7 separate regions of the Homo sapiens genome follow, and all the other regions are linked to region 2. Evidence: promoter capture Hi-C in 16 types of primary human blood cells and fetal thymus (Javierre and others, 2016). All regions are on one chromosome and are shown on one strand. The core of a region is centred on a gene start or on the middle of the fragment in contact, and the rest is flanking DNA. Distances in the headings are between cores, read along the strand shown.

The links. Contacts are between HindIII fragments. The CHiCAGO score rates a contact against its expected background, and 5 or more counts as called.
Region 1: a fragment that was not itself captured here is called in contact with the fragment with the promoter of JADE2 in region 2 in 3 of 17 cell types (activated CD4 T cells, total CD4 T cells and non-activated CD4 T cells); the score reaches 8.4 in activated CD4 T cells.
Region 3: a fragment that was not itself captured here is called in contact with the fragment with the promoter of JADE2 in region 2 in 3 of 17 cell types (naive CD4 T cells, non-activated CD4 T cells and fetal thymus); the score reaches 5.7 in naive CD4 T cells.
Region 4: a fragment that was not itself captured here is called in contact with the fragment with the promoter of JADE2 in region 2 in 1 of 17 cell types (activated CD4 T cells); the score reaches 5.5 in activated CD4 T cells.
Region 5: a fragment that was not itself captured here is called in contact with the fragment with the promoter of JADE2 in region 2 in 2 of 17 cell types (fetal thymus and neutrophils); the score reaches 6.1 in fetal thymus.
Region 6: a contact is called between the fragment with the promoter of PCBD2 here and the fragment with the promoter of JADE2 in region 2, in 1 of 17 cell types (neutrophils). The highest score is 6.3, in neutrophils.
Region 7: a contact is called between a fragment that was not itself captured here and the fragment with the promoter of JADE2 in region 2, in 4 of 17 cell types (naive CD4 T cells, neutrophils, naive CD8 T cells and 1 more). The highest score is 7.1, in naive CD4 T cells.

What each region holds. Positions count from the first base shown.
Region 1 is chr5:134,151,911-134,154,610 of GRCh38, reverse strand. It overlaps SKP1 (S-phase kinase associated protein 1), which reads left to right. Exons shown (of 6, transcript NM_170679.3): 6 at 1-2,700. Among named protein-coding and RNA genes, the nearest start is that of SKP1, 24 kb to the left of the region's middle. The HindIII fragment of the contact is 600 bases long and covers 1,009-1,608 here.
Region 2 is chr5:134,524,394-134,527,093 of GRCh38, reverse strand. It overlaps JADE2 (jade family PHD finger 2), which reads right to left and starts at 1,424. Exons shown (of 12, transcript NM_001388185.1): 1 at 1,083-1,424. It overlaps LOC124901070 (a long non-coding RNA gene), which reads left to right and starts at 1,492. Exons shown (of 3, transcript XR_007058942.1): 1 at 1,492-1,628; 2 at 2,011-2,188. RefSeq lists silencers at 1-954, 965-1,224, 1,255-1,334, 1,465-1,684, 1,705-1,754 and 1 more. The HindIII fragment of the contact is 6,085 bases long and covers 1-2,700 here.
Region 3 is chr5:134,845,113-134,847,812 of GRCh38, reverse strand. It overlaps C5orf24 (chromosome 5 open reading frame 24), which reads right to left and starts at 1,845. Exons shown (of 2, transcript NM_001135586.1): 1 at 1,601-1,845. RefSeq lists silencers at 1,420-1,469, 1,500-1,879 and an enhancer at 1,399-2,134. The HindIII fragment of the contact is 1,128 bases long and covers 812-1,939 here.
Region 4 is chr5:134,087,765-134,090,464 of GRCh38, reverse strand. It overlaps a transcript of VDAC1 not described here. Among named protein-coding and RNA genes, the nearest start is that of TCF7, 26 kb to the left of the region's middle. The HindIII fragment of the contact is 370 bases long and covers 1,263-1,632 here.
Region 5 is chr5:134,043,261-134,045,960 of GRCh38, reverse strand. It overlaps a transcript of VDAC1 not described here. Among named protein-coding and RNA genes, the nearest start is that of VDAC1, 40 kb to the right of the region's middle. The HindIII fragment of the contact is 4,466 bases long and covers 1-2,700 here.
Region 6 is chr5:134,903,800-134,906,499 of GRCh38, reverse strand. It overlaps PCBD2 (pterin-4 alpha-carbinolamine dehydratase 2), which reads right to left and starts at 1,369. Exons shown (of 4, transcript NM_032151.5): 1 at 1,277-1,369. The coding sequence starts at 1,360. RefSeq lists enhancers at 286-871, 872-1,456 and a silencer at 1,054-1,813. The HindIII fragment of the contact is 31,150 bases long and covers 1-2,700 here.
Region 7 is chr5:134,191,816-134,194,515 of GRCh38, reverse strand. PPP2CA (protein phosphatase 2 catalytic subunit alpha) reads left to right here. Exons shown (of 7, transcript NM_002715.4): 7 at 1-184. Among named protein-coding and RNA genes, the nearest start is that of SKP1, 16 kb to the right of the region's middle. The HindIII fragment of the contact is 1,885 bases long and covers 349-2,233 here.

The sequences.
Region 1 (2,700 bases), core at 59-2,558, 370 kb after region 2:
GTCCTTTGGCTTCTCACCTTTTCATTGATTATGTCACTTGTGATCTAAAAGTAAACCAAAACCTTCCTGAATGTTAGCTTATTATTTTCTCCTTAACATTGTCATAGGCTAAAGATGTGCCCCCTCAAATTCTAATAATTTTTTTTTTTTTTTTTTTTTTTTTGAGACAGAGTCTCACTCTGTCGCCCAGACTGGAATGCAGTGGTGCGATCTCAGCTCACTGCAACCTCCGCCTCCTGGGTTCAAGTGATTCTCCTGCCTCAGCCTCCCGAGTAGCTGGGATTACAGGCACATGCCACCATGCCTGGCTAATTTTTTTGTGTTTTTATTAGAGATGGAGTTTTACCATATTGGCCAGGCTGGTCTTGAACTCCTGACCTTGTGATCCGCCCGCCTTAGCCTCCGAAAGTGCTGAGGTTACACGTGTGACCCACCGCACACGGCCCTAATAATTCTTAAGTTGTAGAAGCAAGTTACTCTTTTGAAGTGCCATGTGTTAGCTTGCCTTAATCTATTCTTGGTATACAAAATAGATACTGCTTTACAGTTCTTATATTTTCTCAGAGATTCACAAAATCATCCTGTAGCTCCCTGTGTGGGATTATAGCTGTGACTTTTTACTCTACAACTGTCAGAATACACCAGCTCCTGGAATTAAGCAAGAACTATATTGTGACTTGGTTGGACAGGTAACTGCAGCCTTGTAACATGACATCATAGTAATGCTGAGCTTATCTTAAAACTAGCTGGGGAGGGAGGATAGTAACAGTGAGTCACTGTGGGCATCTCACTTAGGGCAGGCAGATATTCCAAATCACATTGATTTTTCAGTTTACGTAAAAATTGACCAATCCTATGGGCTGTGTTCTGATCCCAACATAAATTTTGTTTAAGTTAATTTGCCTAGGCTCTCAATAAGGCAGTTTGGGAATATAAGGTGATTTTCCACCAGAAAAGAGAAAATTGAGAGAGCAGCAGACCTCTTGCTCTCAGCACCCTTTACAAGCTTAACTTTTGCTTGCCACCATTAGCTTTTGAAGATTTTTTTTAACTGCTCCTTGCAGAGCAGGACTACCCCATAGGCAGTGTGCCCAGAGTAGCCCGAAGAGCTTTTTGATTCTTCTTTTAAGAGACAAGGTCTCACCTCTGCCCCCCAGGCTGGAGTGCAGTGATGTGATCACAGCTCATTGCAGCCTCGAACTCTTGGGCTCCAACAGTCCTCCTGCCTCAGCCTCCTGAATAGCTAGGACTACATGTGTGTGCTACCATGCCTTGCTAGTTTTTGTTTTTTTAAATTGATTTTTATAGAGATGAGGTCTCCTCATGTTGCCCAGGCTGTTTTCGAATTCCTGGGCTCAAGATCCTCCTGCCTCAACCTCCCAAAGTGCTGGTATTACAGATGTGAGCCACAGCACCCACCAATTTTTCCTTTTCTAAAGCTCAGTGTACATTCTGGTAGGAAGGAATCAACCAAGTAAATGTTCTCCCTACAAAGTTGTTTGAGGATTTGAAAAGTTAATCTTCAATTATCTGGATTTGAAACCAGTCTATAACTTTTTAAGCTAGGAAGAAGTCAAGAATAAGAAGATTGCAAGCAAAGGGAAAGCTTACAAAATGGCTGAATCCTTAAAGTGTAGCTCCTGGCTTCTCCTTGGTAGGAAGCATTAGACATGGTTTCCCTCTAGGGAGCTGGGAGCTTTTGGTGTAGTTCAGGAGAGAAGGCATAAATACTGCTGGGAGGGAGTGGATAACTCTAATAAAAATGTTCCTGGGCTGGGCACGGTGGCTCACGCCTGTAATCCCAACATTTTCAGAGGCTGAGGTGTGCAGATCACGAGGTCAAGAGATCGAGACCATCCTGGCCAACATGGTGAAACCTCATCTCTACTAAAAATACAAAAATTAGCTGGGCGTGGTGGCACATGCCTGTAGTCCCAGCAACTCGGGAGGCTGAGGCAGGAGAACCGCTTGAACCCGGGAGGCGGAAGTTGCAGTGAGCCGACATCACGCCACTGACTGCAGTCCAGCCTGGCGACAGAGCGAGACTCCGTTTCAAAAAAAAAAAGTTTCTGGACAGAACAGATTAATGAGCCAATGGGGGGCTACAGAGCTGAAAGGTGCTACGAAAGGTTTTGTAAAGTGAAACTAATTTGGTTTCAAGAATCAAGTTGGATTTGTTTGGGGGTGGACAGATGCCAAAGTGAGGAAAAAGCAGTGCACAGTCAGGAACTAACAGCAGAAGGTTGGGTGTTGGTACATTTCCCTGAGAATATAGACTAAAGAGAAATTAGGGCAGGATTAGTCACAGTACTTTGCTGACACTCAGTAGTATTTTATCAGCATTTATTCATCAGACCCACATTAGGCAGGGCAATTTTTGAGTGAGCTAAATTCTAATTTTTTTAATTTTAATTTTTATTTATTTATTTTTTGGCTGTTCAACTAAACCAGTCTTTTGAATGTTGGGGGTTTTACAGTTAGAGTCCTGATGACTTTTTCTTGTTTACTGTTGTTAAAAATCACTACCTCCAGTGGTCACAGAGAATGAGTAAGAGAACTGGCTGTGCATATCAAGATGAAGTATGGTGTAAGAAATATTTCAGAGCATGTCCTTTGGCCCAAGATTGAGCCATTTGGACACCTAAGCAGGATTGGCTGAATGTTATCCTTTCTGCTGAGGCATCAGTGGAGATGATCATT
Region 2 (2,700 bases), core at 175-2,674:
TGAGAGTCAGGTGTGTGCGTCCCAAACGGGGTCCGCCACAAGCCGGCATCTTCCTGGTACCACCCATGGTGCAGGGCCCTAGGCAGAGGGCTGGGGACTGCGGATCCGTCCCTGAAGCGGGACGCGAACCGGCAGAGTTGGGAGAAGGTAAACAAGGGCCACGCCCCCTGCCGTCGCCCCGCGGGCGCGCACCCGCCGCTCCGGCCGCCGCCGGTACATTTCCACTCTCCCAGCGCCTCTCCCCAGCTGGACTACCGCGCGGCCCCGGAGGTGGAGGCTGCCCCCGACCCCAGTCCTCACCCCTGGCGCCGAGGCTCCGCACCCTCCACACTCACCTGGAAAGGGTGTCCCCCGCCCCTCCAAAAAAACTGTCTAATTTGTGCAGAGCCTCCAACCCCAGGAGCCGAGCATGCTGCCCCCGCGTGCAGCGCCCGCGTGCACCGGGCCGGGAGAGGGGGCGACAGGGCGGAGGCGGTGGCCCCCGGAAGGTGTCTGGGACCGGACCGGCTGCACGTGAGCCCAGCGCGAGGTCATGTGCACCGGCTCAGCCCGGTTCGGCGCCCGGACGTGCTGCGTATCAACAAAATGAAACTCGGGGAGACAGGAGGGCAGATAGCTCCAGGTTCTCGGAGCCCCCGCCCGGGCCGCTCGACCTCCCCACCGTACCCATCTCCCGCCGCAGCCCCTACGCCCGGCCGGAGCCCGCGGGGAAGTTGCAGCCCTGGCGCGCCCCCGCCCGCCCGCGCCCCCTCGCCGGCCCGGGGGCGCTTTGCCGCAGTCATTAATAAAGAAGGTCGCCAAGCTCACCCTTCCAAAAGTTGTTGTTGCATGCGCCCCTCTCAGCCTCCCCGCACTGTACTCTTTAAAACACGACTGACCAACATGCGCAATCTCTCTCCCCTGTGCTGTGCATCCCCCCCCTCTCCGCGCTGGCTTCCTAGAACAGGCAGCCAGCAGGAGAGAGAGGGAGCGAGCGAGCAAGAGAGAGCGAGGGAGCGAAGAGCGCTGGCAGATCTGTTGCAAAAACGCCAAATAACGTCGTGGAGATGCGCAGGGCCCATCCGCCGGGGGCTGGATCTTACCTTGCTCCGCGGTGCCCCCCTGACGGGCGCTGCCCTCGGCTACGCGCCGCTGCAGGGACCGGCGCGGGAAGGATGCTCCCGAAGCCGGGAGCTCCTGGGGCCGGCGCGGGAGGGCGGGGGGCGCGCATCCATCCGGGGTCGCGGCGAGGGAGGCGGCCGGGCCCGCGGCGTCCCAGGCCCCACGCCCCCCGCCGGGGACGGTCGGCCCGCAGGACCTAAGCCGGTGCCGCTAGGAGTGGGCGCAAAGTAACTCCATGGACGCTACTCACCCCCCCCAAAAAATAGCCTCCAACTGCGATGGCCGCGGTCGGCACCATTCACCAACCCCCTGTGTATGTTTCTGTTTCTTTTTAAACCAAGACTTCCTTGTGATCTCTTTAGAAAAAAAAAATGTGTTGGGGTGGGGGTGGGGTGGGGGCGGGCAGGAGGAGCGAGGGAGGGGGAGTAGCCACTTTTTTCTTATTCACTCGGATCTCCGCTCCCGACACCCCCGTCGCCGCCCCCCCAACCCCCCGCCCAGTTGTTTGGCTCCGGCGGGGAGTCCAGGTAGCGTTGCGGGCCCCGTGGGGGAAGGGTGCCCTCCCTCGCAGCCCCACCACCACGCCTGCTGGCACCCTGGGCCCGGACTCCCCATGGACTCTGGGGCGCCCCTAGCCCGCCCTGTCCCCAGGGCCGGGCCCGAGCGGCGGCTGCGCCCGTGCAAGTCCCATCAGGTCTGCTCACACTTCACACACTCACACACATACCCCGCCCCTCCACTCTTTCACTCACACTTTCTGCTCACACCCCGCCCCCTACGCGCCCCAGACCCGGGCGGCGCCCCCCGCAACCTTAAAAAAAAAAAAAAGCGAGCTTATACTTAAAAAAATCTTTTGGCGCCATATTAATGACGTACTTAAAATTTGCCATTTCTCCCTGCGTCAAAAAGACGTTTCTTTGCAAATAACAGCCTGGAGGCGACACTCGCGGAGGGAACGAGGTTTGCACTGAGCACCCCGCCCCCCGGGGCTCCAGCGCTGGAAGACCCTCGCCCTAGGCCCTGCTTCTGAATCGCTGGTTTTAAAATGCGAATCGAATAAATTGCGTGGCGTTTTGCAGCACCAGAAGTGAGCAGAAAGTGCTGGCAGGAGGGGAGTGGAGGGGCGAACGCGAGTCTTGGGGAGGGGGCGCGGCCCTCCTCCCCGCACCCACTCCAAATGGAAAACTAACATTCCGGGCGGGGGAACTTGAAATTGTAGGCGACCTCAAGAAAAGAGGGGCGGTCCGTAGAGAGGGTCCCCATTGGGCTCGTCGCCCCCTCCCCCCTCCCGGGTGCCTCCTGGCGCCTAGCGCTGCCCCGCATTTCCGGGGGGTGGAGAAGGCAGTGATGAGCGGGTGGGTGGGTGGTTGCACATCCTGGCCCCAGCAGGATTTTGCCCCGGGGCGACCCCTTCCTCCTTGCTCTTCCTTCCCATTACCCCGAAAGGGTTAAAAACCGAGGGGTAACTTCCAAAGGCTGGCACATGGCGAGGAAGCGGGGCGCCCCTCTCCCCACCCTTCGCCTCCTCGCCCCTCCTCCTCCGGCTCCACTTCCCGACTTGACCTTGTGGTGCACAAACAGTACGCTCGGATCCTCGCA
Region 3 (2,700 bases), core at 126-2,625, 320 kb before region 2:
CAGGAGAATCGCTTGAACCCAAAGGCGGAGGTTGCAGTGAGCCGAGTTCGTGCCACTGTACTCCAGCCTAGGAAACAGACTCCATCTCAGGAAAAAAAAAAAAAAAATAGGATGAATACTACATTTCCAGACAGCGTGGACTGAATAGAAGCCAAGAGTTATAGAACAGGTTGTGTAGACTATCAAAGGTTAAAGATCATCTTTTTAAATAGTTACTGAAGCCGGGTGCAGTGGCTCACGCCTGTAATCCCAGCACTTTGGGAGGTTGAGAAGGGTGGATCACGAGGTCAGCAGTTCGAGACCAGCCTGGTCAACATGGTTAAACACCATCTTTACTAAAAATACAAAAATTAGCTGGGTGTGGTGGCGCATGCCTATAATCCCAGCTACTTGGGAGGCTGAGGCAGGAGAATTGCTTGAACCCGGGAGGCAGAGGTTGCAGTGAGCCGCGATCGCGCCACTGTACTCCAGCCTGGGGGACAGAGTGAGACTCCGTTTCAAAAAAAACAAAACAAACAAAAACAACCAATAAATAGTTCCCTGAATGTACAGGAGTCAACTAAGAGCTTCTATATATTTGGACTGTGACTAAATTCGAATACTTAAAGCATAAGCTAAAACTTACCATCCTTGAAGTTGTTTTATTGTGTTTAACTCCTAAAGTTTAACCCCTAAAATGAGCCGTTCTTTATAGAACAATTCCTTTCTCTTCTCTTGAATGTGGCAGTCATTACTGCCAACATAAAGAAATGTAACTATTTTTAGTAACTTCACAAAGCATCCCTGAAGCTTTCTAAACATGGAGAAAGCTTCCTTTCAAGAAACCCAAGTTCTGTTCTCCAAAGATCAAAGATCACGTAATTCTCAGAGATTTATTTCAGGTCATTTGACTAACTATTATGTATAATCATATACGTTTCATAATTCTAAATGAAGATTTGCAACTCACCTCAATCACTCTGAAAGTCCATTCAGCAGAGGCCAATAGCCACGCACCCTGCCCCACCACGGAAAGTTTTGATAATAGGACGGCACATAAATAACGGCCTCCTTTGTCTTCTTCCTGCTCCTTAACTGTGCCCCACGGTGCACAAATAAGGACTCTCCTTATTTTGACACGAGGCGTTTAGAATGTATTACCTGTTGTGTGCTGAAAGCGACTATTAGCGTATTGGCAATAACAAGTTTGCAGAAGATGCACGCCACCCTAGAGAAAGGGTTGTGTACCCTCTAAAAAGCAAAATTCATAAGCCGCTATCCGTCCACTCGGAGTTCCGCAAGCGTAGAAGTCCACGGGCACTCCATCGCGACGCCGATCTCGAGCCGGCAGGCTTTTATTTAAAGGCGAAGGGCGGACTGCGGATTCTGACCTCTCAAAGAAAAGAAAGGGGGCTCCCTCCCCCCGCCGCAGGAGGAATGTCCCCCCGTAATGGCTCCACACCGGGGAAGAGCAGGCTACGTCCGGGGCCCCTCCTCTCACTCCGGCTACACTAGGGCCCCTTGGCAGGAGGCCTCTTCTCCCCGGTCAGCGAGGCGCCCGTTCTCGCCGCCGCCCTACCCCGCTCCCGGCCGGCTGACCAGCCCGCGCACCCCTACCTACCTCAGCCGCTCGTAGCCCGGCCCCTCGGCGCGTCTAGGGGCTTCCCAGCGGCTGGGAACCTCGTGCTGGCGCCGCTCCCTCCCCAGCCCGCCGCCTCTGCACGGTGCGGAGAACGGGCCAAGACGGAGTGGCAGGCAGCGAGGGCGGCGGCGAGGCAGGCGCTGGCTCCCAGCACCCGCCGCGGCCGCCGCGCACGGTCCTGCCCCGGACGCAGTACGAAGAGGCCGCTACCACCCTGTAGTGTTAGAGGCGGCGTGCGCGAGCTCGCGAGGGCCGCGCACGCACACGCTCACTCGCATCGCGAGACCCGATCTCCCGCCGCCAACCTGCACGCAAGCTTTGGGAGGGAGCCAGGCTGGCAGGCTGCGCTTGCGCGTCGTGGCCTTAAGCCTGAGCTGCTGGTGATCCGGCGTGGACCGTCCCCAGTGGCTGGGGTTGAGGAACCCACCAAATGGGGAATTAATAACTTCCTTACTTGTATTGGTTTTCACCACAATTCTGAGATGCTGGAACTCCTGCTGACCCCATTTCTTAGATACAGGACAAATAAATGATAGTCAGGGGAGTTGGGACTCTTCATGCCCAGGATCATGTGATAATGAAAAGCTTTATTTTATGGGACATCCTATGATCCACGCAGATTACAGGCGTAAGCCACCACGCCCCAGGAATTGTCGCATTCATTATTCCATAATCACAGGAAAGGATGGAACAACAAACTACCGCTATTATGTTTTTCTTGTGAGATATCTGACATATCAGTCACCTCACACAAACCCACTTAGAAGGGATTCATTTCCTCACTCCTTCCTCCTGTGAATTTCCAGATGTCAGAATGGAGAGGATCCAGAATTAGGGCAGCTACTGAAAGGGAGACACTTTATTAAGCAGTGGGAAGAGGCTAGAGGAGGATGCTTGCCCTTTTCCCCCATGTAATGAAGGATATTTGAGGATGGACAATTCATAGAACTGAGTTCTACCATAAGCACAGCCCTGAGCCAGGTACTGCCCTGCCAGTAGGAAAGAAAGGAGGAGAAACAACTTTTCTGGACAAACACACAAGCCAGGACACAACACACGAAACAAGCAAGCCCATTCAT
Region 4 (2,700 bases), core at 198-2,697, 440 kb after region 2:
AAAAACTGAGGCCCAGAGAGAAGCAGAGGCTTGGCTTAGCTCCACCCTCACCATCCACGCACCCTTCCCATCTGGGGATTTGGGGCTTGCACATATGAAACTGTTAGAGAACAATGCGTCCATTCTGTAATCAAGGCTAATTGGTGTGGTTCAGAAGAGGAGAAACGCCAGGCGTTTGGGGGCAGAACATCAGTGGGTCTCTGAACCAACCACCCAGGAATATTCCACGAAGAATTAGAGTAGCTCCTGGGGCCTGGGAAGGGCAAACCTTGGGTAGGTGAGAGGACATTCAGGCAGCATGGATAGTGCTCGGAGGTGGGACCTAGCTTGGCCTGAATGTGGGGACTGATGGAAGGAGGAACTGGGGCAGAAATTTGGGTCCTCCCCAGACTGGACGAGGCCTGAGAATGAACAATTTGGCGCCCACCTCATTAATTCCTACTGAGCCACATTTTCTTTCTTTCTTTTTTTTTGAGACAGAGTTTCTCTCTGTCACCCAGGCTGGAGTGCAATGGCATGATCTCAGCTCACTGCAACCTCTGCCTGCCAGGTTCAAGCCATTCTCCTGCCTCAGCCTCCCAAGTAGCTTAGATTACAGGCATGCGCCACCATGCCTGGCTAATTTTTTTGTATTTTTAGTAGAGACGGGGTTTCACCATGTTGGCCAGGCTGGTCTCGAACTCCTGACCTCAAGTGATCCACCCGCCTTGGCCTCCCAAAATGCTGGGATTACAGGCATGAGCCACTGCACCCAGCCATGAGCCACCGCACCCGGCCATGAGCCACCACACCCGGCCATGAGCCACATTTTCAAAGGTACCTGGGAGAGGTGAACTGGCTACTCTGCATGCAGAAGGGAGCAGGGAAAGGCATGATGGGGGGTTGCCTGGCTCCCCCCACCTCTCCTCAGTGCCTCTACCTTTTAATCAGGGCAGCCCTGCCTTAATGTTTCTTCCAATATCCTAAACAGCCAGGCTGGGATGGCGAGCTGTAATTTCTATCATTTTTCATATGGGTTATAGGCTCCTTCAAATGGGAACCACATTGGATAAGGGGCAAACCATAAGGGCAGGATGTTGAGAAATATGGTCCTAAGAAGCCACCTGCTTCTCATTTGGGATGTGCCTGGTTTATTGCTTGGTCCCAGTGCCCAGCTGGTTTCGGAGCTGGCAGAGCAGCCATAGATTACTGTCCTCATCAGTCATCTGCGCTGAGGCTGGGGCGAGCAGCTCAGAGCCTGGGGTGTGCCCCTATGCAAAGCTTTGCAGAGACGGTTGGGAGCACTCTGCTCTTTGTCCTTGCCTGTCCCTGCAGGTGGCCATCTGGAGAAAAGCAAGTCCAGGCAAAGCCCTAGAGCCTGTGGCAGGCTGGGCACCCCTGGCTGGTGCAGGCAAGGCAGGACTCTGGGCTCCCACAGTCTTAGCTTCTTGCAAACTGAGAATTAGGGCATCAAAGTAGGCAAAGGGGCCAGCTGCCATGATGATGAAGGAACCATGGCTGCATGCAACAGCGTGGATGAACCTTCAGCATAATATGTGGTGCAAAAGCTGAATGGATGTGTGTGATTGAGTCCATTCGTATGAAGTTCACAACCGGACAGTCTATTCCATGGTGTTAGGGGAGAGGTAAGCTTGGGGGAAAACTTGGAATGTTGCAAGCAATTACCCTAAGTTGGAATAGTGGTAATAGTGGTAACCTTCAGTGAGGAGCAAGGGGGAAAGATGTAGGTGGGACATTTCCAGGGGACAGGCCATGCTCTATTTCTTGATCCTGGAGGTGGCTACATAAGTGTTCACTTTGTCATAATTCATTAAGTTATACATTTATGCTTTATGTGCTTTTCCTGAGTGTTTTTCTTTTCACAATAAAAAGGGTTAAGAAAACAAAAACAGGCATTGAATGATTGAGCCTGGCACCTTCCCCAGTTTGCCTCCTTCTCTGTCTCATTTTTGGCCACTGGTACCCCTGGAATGCTCTCCCTTGCCTCCTCCATGCCTGTGGTCAGCCCCCTTCCAGCTGTCTCTCCCAGCCTGGCTCAGGCCTAGGCCTGCCCTAAGACTGATGGAGTCACAGGCTAGTGGGGCTTCCTGACCCCCAGAGAGCTTGGAAGCTCAGTAGGCCTTGGGGGCCCCCTTTTCAGTAGCACCTGGCCCACCCTGTGCCTAGTCCAGCACTGGGACCTGTGATGGGTTTTGTTGGGGGCTCTGGGGACAGGTTCCCTTGCTCAGAGATTTTCTGCTTTTTCCCTCATCAAGTAGTTGTCAGAGCTGCTTGTTTTTTTTGTTTTGTTTTGTTTTGTTTTGTTTTTTGAGACAGGGTTTTGCTCTTGTCACCCAGGCTGGAGTGCAGTGGCGTGATCTCAGCTCACTGCAACCTCTGCCTCCTGGGTTCAAGCGATTCTCCTGCCTCAGCCTCCTGAGTAGCTGGGATTACAGGCACGCGCTACAACGCCCGGCTAATTTTTTTTTGTATTTTTAGTAGAGATGGGGTTTCACCATGTTGGTCAGGCTGGTCTCAAAACTCCTGACCTCAGGTGACCTGCCCGCCTTGGCCTCCTAAAGTGCTGGGATTACAGGCGTGAACCAACGTGCCCTGCTTGTTTTGTTTTTTAGGGTCTCACTCACTCTATCTCCCAGACTGGAGTGCAGTGGCGCGATCTCAGCTCACTGCAACCTCCGCCTCCCGGGTTCAAGTCATTCT
Region 5 (2,700 bases), core at 200-2,699, 480 kb after region 2:
GTAATCCCAGCACTTTGGGAGGCTGAGGTGGGCAGATCACCTGAGGTCGGGAGTTCGAGACCAGCCTGACCAACACGGAGAAACCCTGCCTCTACTAAAAATATGAAAATTAGCCAGGCGTGGTGGTGTGCCTCTGTAATCCCAGCTACTCGGGAGGCTGAGGCAGGAGAATCACTTGAACCTGGGAAGCAGAGGAGGCAGAGGTTGCAGTGAGCCAGGATCGCACCATTGCACTTCAGCCTGGGCAACAAGAGTGAAACCCCATCTCAAAAAAAAAAAAGAAAAATCTTGGGATGGGGATACCATCCTGGATTATTCAGGCAGACCCAATGTCACCCCAAGGGCCCTTCAAAGAGGGAGGCAGAAGAGTCCATATTAGAAGAGATGAGACAATGGAAACAGAGGCCAGAGACAGATTTGGAGATGCTGCTGGCTTTGAAGATGAGGATGATGTCCTAAGCCAAGGAACGTAGGTAGCTCCTGGAAGCTAGAAAAGGCAAGGAAATGATTCTTCCCTAAAGCCTCCAGAATGAAGGCAGCTCTGCAGGCACCTTGGTTTTAGGACTTCTGACCTCCTGAACTGTAATAGAAGACATTTTGCTGTTTTAAGCCACTAAGTTTGTGGCACTTTTTCCAGCAGCAGTAGGAAGCTGATACACTGGACTTCAGCTGTCCTCTCTGTAGATAACTGGCGTGGCTGGCCAGATGGGCCACACACACTATGCTTTCTTGACTGAAGCTGATGAGTCCAGGCCAGCAGGGCCTAAAATTTTTCTGATTTTGTGGACTTTCTTTGGGAATCTAGTTCTCTGGCTGTTCTTCCTCCCCCATGGAAGGAGCTTTGTCCACTGTGGCTTTGGAGGGTTTTGACCCGTGATGTGATTGGGAAGCACAAGGAATGGAACTTCACAGGGCCGACCTTGTTGGGAGTTTCTGGGCCCCTGCTCTGGGCATTGTCTTGGAACCAGCTACCCAAAAGGCCAAAACTGCCCTCTGGCTCCCGGGCCTAATTACAGCCCCTGCCTAGGCCTCCCTTCCCCAGGATGGCCAGAGTTGAGGGGGTTTCACATGGTGATGAGCTCCTTGAAGACTCTGAGCTCTAGGCAGCCAGTCTCTTCTGTGCCCCTAGCTCTGGCGCAGTACCTCACATGGGGTAGGAGCTCAAGAAATATTTGCTGAATGAATAAATAATTCAGTAGCACACATACACAGACAACACACAGCTTGGGACATCACACGGTCTTTTCTATACCTAGATGCATACCCAGATAAGCACTTACATACCTGTGCGCGCGCGCACACACACACACAGATAGCAATATGCACACACACACACAGTTATGTGCACACACACGTGCACCAATGGGTATGTGCACACAGACACATACAGATATGCAAATGTGCCATGGAGCCCTATTCTGAAGGAAGAGAGGACACTTCTGTCCACTGAGGGAACTGAAATGCCAGCTAGCTTAGCAGGGCCTTGGAAGTTTTTATTAATCCATAAAAATCCCTTAGCTGTCTGGGGAGCCTCCCAGCAGCTGAGGAGGTTCCCCGACAGGAAGGATGGGGCGGATCTCCCATTGATGGGGAGGGGACCCAGGTGTTGGCTGCTGTTGGAGGGGCCGTTGTGCAGACACCTGCATATGATGGGAGCTGGAGCTAGGGCGGAAAGAGCTGGGAGCACAGATGTCTGAGTTGGCCCCCAGCAAGGGAAGATGGGCCTCTGAAGTTCAGGCTGCCAATCATAACCTACCTTGGATCTTGGAGGAGGCCCAGCTTTTGGACAGCTATACGGAAATGAGGGGGTGTAAACTCAACATTCCATTGGTGAAGGGATGGGGATGGGAGGCAGGGTACTGAGCAAAAACATCGCCTGCTCTGGAGTTGGAAAGGCTTGGTTTGAGTCGCAGTCTGTGCTCATCAGCTGGGTTACCTTGGGCTGGTTGATCAACGTCTCTTTGCGTCAGCTTCAGCATCTCTGAAATGGGCGACTGAGGGCACCTACCTGTCAGGGCTGGAGTGAGGATTAGGTGAGAGAATGGAAGTCAAGTGCTCCATTTATCACCAAAGAACTAAAAAAATGGGAGCTTAAGAAAAATGCAGGCACTGGATAAAAGTCTACCTAGGCTGGGCGCGGTGGCTCACACCTGTAGTCCCAGCACTTTGAGAGGCCAAGATGGGTGGATCGCTTGAGCCCAGGAGTTCAAGATGAGCTTGGGCAACATAATGAGACCCCATCTCTACAAAACATACAAAAATTAGCTGGCCATGGTGGTGCACAACTGTAAGTACCAGCTACTCAGGAGGCTGAGGTGGGAGGATAACTTGAGCCTGGAGGTTGAGGCTGCAGTGAGCCGTGATTGCACCACTACACTCCAGCCTGGGCAACAGAGTGAACCTTGTCTGGGAAAAAAAAAGAAAAAAGAAAAAAGAAAAGTCTACCCAGCCCATCCTAGGGCAGAATAACCAGAGAGGAGGAGGTGAGAGTCCTTTCCAGCCACCTCTTAGGTAGTCCCGCAGTCTAGAATTTCGCTCTGGTTGGGCTAATTCCTGGGAGGGGTGTGGCCCAGCGCTGCCCTTGTCCTAGCCCTGCCTCTGTGTGACCTGGAGTACGTTGCTTTGCTTCTCTGAACCTCAGCAGCTCCTTTTCTATATATCCTGGATAGTTGTGAAGCTCACATGAGACTGGGCATTTGA
Region 6 (2,700 bases), core at 120-2,619, 380 kb before region 2:
TCGAGCTATTTTAAATTTCTTCTATTACAGCACTTTGGGAGGCCGAGGAGGGTGGATGACGAGGTCAGGAGATCGAGACCATCCTGGCTAACACGGTGAAACCCCGCCTCTACTAAAAATACAAAAAAATTAGCCGGGCGTGGCGACGGGCGCCTGTTGTCCCAGCTACTCGGGAGGCTGAGGCAGGAAAATGGCGTGAACCCGGGAGGCGGAGCTTGCAATACGCCGAGATCGCGCCACTGCACTCCAGCCTGGGTGACGGCGTGATTCTCCTTCTCAAAAAAAAAAAAAAAAAAAAAAAAAAATTCTTCTATTAAAGAATTTCAGGCCAGGCGCAGTGGCTCGCGCCTGTAATCCCAGCACTTTGGGAGGCCGAGGCAGGTAGATCACCTGAGGTCAGGAGTTCGAGACTAGCCTGGCCAACATGGCGAAAACCCCTCTCTACTAAAAATATAAAAAATTACCTGGGCGAAATGGCACGCGCCTGTAATCGCAGCTACTCGGGAGGGTGAGGCAGGAGAATAGCGTGAACCCAGGAGATGGAGGTTGCAGTGAGCCGAGATCGCGCCACTCCACTCCGGGCTCGGCGATACAGCGAGACTCCGTGTCGAAAAAACAAAACAAAACAAAACATTTCAAACTGAAATGGGCGGTTAAAATGCAACTTAAAATGAGATGGTGAGTTTAACGCACCACTTTTCCACTAGGTGGTGCTGCATGTTAAAACTTTCCCTCCATTTACTCCAAAATATTAATTTCTACAGCAGGAAAACTGACGGCCCCTTGGAAAAGGAAAGAAAAGTCAATATGTCACCAAAAAAGACAATTTATTAATAACTCCTCCAAAACCTCTGTGGGTTCCCCTTGGAGTGAAGCGCGAGCAGGGAGCCGCCATAGGGAGCCAGGCCCGCAGCGCCGTTCGTCCTCAGCACAACGAGCGGCAGCGGGCACCGAATTGTTCTGCAACTACTTTTCACATCTGCCTTTTGTAGTTGCTGAACAAAATTCGTTCCCATTTGTTTCCGGTTGGCAAGTTCGTAGGCTTCGGCGGAAGTGTAAAGTCAAGGGCAAGTGGCGGAGGCTGCGGCCACCCCGGTCTCTGAGCGGCGCACCGGACAGGTGGTCAGTCCCGGGACGCGGTGACCCGACGCCCGAGCTCCAAGGCTCGGCCCACGCCGGGTTCGCCCCAGTCCCGCTGGTCCCTCAGCCGACGCCGCCGGGCCTCGCACCGCCCCCCGACCCCGGACCCCCACCCACGCGGCCGCTGTGCACTCACCATGGCCGCTAGCCCTAGGCTCTGGCCTCGCAGCGCCGCCAACAAGCGCCGCGTCGCCCCGAGCGCCCCGAGCACCGCCGCCATTGGCCGTCTGCCGAGGGCTGCCCCGCGCGCTGCCTGCCGGCCGCCCACAGCCGCCCCCGACCCGACCACGCCCAGCTACCGCCAGCCCTGGTAGTCTCCCTGCGGGGCTGGCCCGGAGCGGGGTCTGTGTGTGGGAAGCGCCCAGCCTTCCCGCGGGCACAGGCGCAGCCCGGACCCCGAACACCCCCAGGAGCTTCAGCGGTCGCCAGCGCCCTTGGCCGCCAGGTGGACTCTGCGCGCCCCACAGCCGTAGGCCCAGCAGGCGCGCGCGGTCCCCGCCCCGTGCGGGCCCGTCGCGTCTGTGCCCGGGACGCAGGTCGCCCGGCGCGCGCTGGCCTTGCCCTCCGGTCCTCGCTGCGCTAGGAGGAACTTCGCCCAGCCTCGGGCGCCGGCCTCCTCCGCTTCGCGGGCGCTAGCACCGAGCTGGGCTCCCCGCTTGGCGGCGCTGCGCGCAGTCCATGCGGGCAGGAGGATGTCGTAGGCCAGGGCGGGGCAGTTGAGCGGCGGGGCTGGGGCAGTGAACCACGGCAGTTCCCATCGGGGGCTCCTAAGTCTTGCAGTAGTGGGTTCGAACGCAGCCTCTGTTCAGTCATCACGCAGCTGCCAAGTTCTTGAGCCAGCTGGCTCGTCTGGGTTTGCCTGGACCAAAAAGTGTGGAAACCCGGCCTGTAATCCCCTCCCAAACGTGTCCGTGCCCTGTTTACCCCCAGGCTCAGCACACAGTAGGAGCTCTGCAGACAGCTGTGAACAGATTTAGGTGAATCTTTTCTTGTATCATTTTTGGGGAGGTATTCTTTCATTCTTTTTTTTTTTTTTTTTTTGACTTTTTTGAGATGTAATTGACATACTATTAAGAATACTCACTTGTATCTTTTTTTTTTTTTTTTTTTTTTGAGACGGAGTCTCGCTCTGTCGCCCAGGCTGGAGTGCAGTGGCGCGATCTCGGCTCACTGCAAGCTCCGCCTCCCGGGTTCACGCCATTCTCCTGCCTTAGTCTCCCGAGTAGCTGGGACTACAGTCACCCGCCACCACGCCCGGCTAATTTTGTTTTTGTATGTTTAGTAGAGACGGGGTTTCACAGTGTTAGCCAGGATGGCCTCAATCTCCTGACCTCGTGATCCGCCCGCCTCGGCCTCCTAAAGTGCTGGGATTACAGGCGTGAGCCACCGCGCCCGGCCTCTTTTTTGTTTGTTTTTAACTGAATAGTTTAAGCAGGCCAGGCATGGTGGCCCGCACCTGTAATCACAGCACTTTGGGAGGACAAGGCAGGAGGATCACTTGAGGCCAGATGTTCGAGATCTGCCTGGGCAACATGGCAAAACCCCATCTCTATTAAAAAT
Region 7 (2,700 bases), core at 42-2,541, 330 kb after region 2:
TCTGTTTCAGTGGTGACTTTTACCTGTTTAGTATAAATATTCCTTTGCTTCCAACCATAAATGTGTTCTTAGAAATGGGCCTATAGTTTAGTAACCTATAGTTTGGTAATAGGCTTGTTTGTTTTCAGATGGATTTTGGTTCTGTGAGCTAAAGCTATTTTGCATTAAAGCCTTCGTCCTCACACATTGTTTTGACATATTTCTAGTCTTCATAAACTTTTTTAATTTAGATTTTTTTCCCTTCACAAGTATACATCTGTTTTAGCAAATAGCCTTATGAAGGTTGTAGATGTATTATTTTGGGCATGCCTGGTGATTTCTATATTTTTTCCAATTACATTTAAAGCTTTATGTTTTAGGAATATAAGTACATTTTATTTCTACTTTTTATTATATATATTTAATTGCACAAGTACTACTGTCTAGAAAAAAATGGGATGTTGCTAACACAGCATTGTTGGCTTGTAGGCAGTGCTGTCCTGTAAATAGATTGAAATGTATTTTTATCAGCTGGTATATAAATTTGAGGAAAGAAAAATGTGGACTGTGTTTGAATTGTTTAAAAGTTGAACATACAAAGATCAGTGGTAACCAAGTAAGTGATATAGGCAACAGACCCCAGTTTGTTTTGTATTTGCTGTCATGCCTGGACCAGAATTCCTCATTCCCAAGAGTGAAAGAGGAAATAATTATAGCTAATGAGTGAATGCTGGAAAAAGTCACACTTTTTTGTTTTTTAAGGAAAAGCACAAACCCTCATGTCTGAGGTTGAATTTAATTAAGTGCAGTCGGCCCTCCATAGTCAAGGGTTCCACATCTGAGAATTCAGCCAACCATGGACTGAAAATATTTTTGGGAAAAGGAACCAATAAAAACCAATACAGTGGCCAGGAGCAGTGGCTCATGCCCATAATCCCGGCACTTTAGGAGGCGGAGGCAGGGGTGGGGGGATCACCGGAGGTCAGGAGTTCAAGACCAGCCTGGCCAACATGGTGAAACCCCGTCTCTACTAAAACTATAAGAATTAGCTGGGCATGGTGGCGTGTGCCTGTAATCCCAGCTACTCAGGAGGCTGAGGCAGGAGAATCACTTGAATCTGGGAGGTGGAGGTTGCAGTGAGCCAAGATAGAGCCACTGCACTTCAGCCTGGGCAACAGAGCAAGACTCTGTCTAAAAAAAAAAAACACAGTATAACTATATACATAGCAATTTCATTGTTTAGGTATTATGAGTAATCCATAATTTAAAGTATAGCCAGCCATCAGTATCCACAGAGTTTGCATCAAATGAGTCAATGGAGTCAACCAACCTGGGATTGAAAATGCAGTGTTCTTTTTTTTTTCCCCCTGAGACGGAGTCTCTCTCTGTCACCCGGGTTGGGGTGCAGTGGCACGATCTTGGCTCACTGCAACCTGTGCCTCCCGAGTTCAAGCAAGTCTCCTGCCTCAGCTTCCCAAGTAGCTGGGATTACAGGCGTGGCTCACTACGCCCAGTTAATTTTGTATTTTTAGTAGAGACGGTTTCACCATGTTGGCCAGGGTGGTATGAAACTCCCAACCTCAGGCGATCCACCTGCCTCAGCCTCCCAAAGTGCTGGGATTACAGGCATGAGCCACCGCGCCTGGCCAAAAAATGCAGTATTCTTGAATGCAGAACCCACTGGTAAAGGGGACTGACTTCCAGACTTGACTATCCAAGGGAGGTGTCCTGGATCCAGTCTCCCAAGATTACTGAGGGATGACTAGTTTGTATCCTCAACAGGCTTGTGAGAAGTAGCCAGGATTTTGTCTACTCTGCGTACGATGCTGCTAATGCTGCAAACCACTGCTCTTATTTTACTACTTGGGTCCCTTCGGAATCTATTTTGAGATAGCCTCAGCCATGGTGTACAATCTTCTCAACCATTCAGTGTTGTTAGTGGGAAGGACTTTAATGTGTTCTTCCTGCTGGGCACAGTGGCTCCCGCCTGTAATCCTATCACTTTGGGAGTCCGAGGTGGGTGGATCACTTGAGCCTGGAGTTGAAGATGAGCCTGGCCAACATGGTGAAATCCTGTCTCCACTAAAAAAACAACTAGCTGGGTGTGATGGCACTTACCTGTAGTACCAGCTAGTTGGGAGGGTGAGACTAAATCGCTTGAAACCGGGAAGCAGAGGTTGCAGTGAGCTGAGATCGCGCCATTGCACTCCAGACTGCGAGACTCTTGTCTCGAAAAAATATATTTTTAAAAGCTTTCTTCCAAGAAATAATTTAGCTGTTCTTCCTTAGTGCAGTGGTAGGCTGTAGCCACCAGCAAGCAAGATTACTGATGGTGGAAGTCAAAGGCCAGAATCGTGATAGGAAGTTAAGAGTGCTTGCTCCATAGAACACTATGGAAGACCACAATGGAATGTCTAATTAAAGCTATTAGAAATGCCCAAAGCTGTTGAGTGCCTCTACCTCAAGGCTTAGCATACCTTCTGATCTGCAAGGAGACTAATCATTAGGCTTTTTGCAGTTCTAGAACTGCTCTGAGTATGGCATTGGAACCTGGGGATAGGAGCAAGAGCTAGTAATTGGGTTTGGCAGGCCTGGTCAAAGGGGAGCTTTAAGGTCAGGTATATCCAAACATATCAGAAAGTAGGTTACATGGTGTGGTGAAATATACCAGATGTAAAATCTGCAGAATGTACTCCTGCTGTTGAGTCCAACTTGCAATGT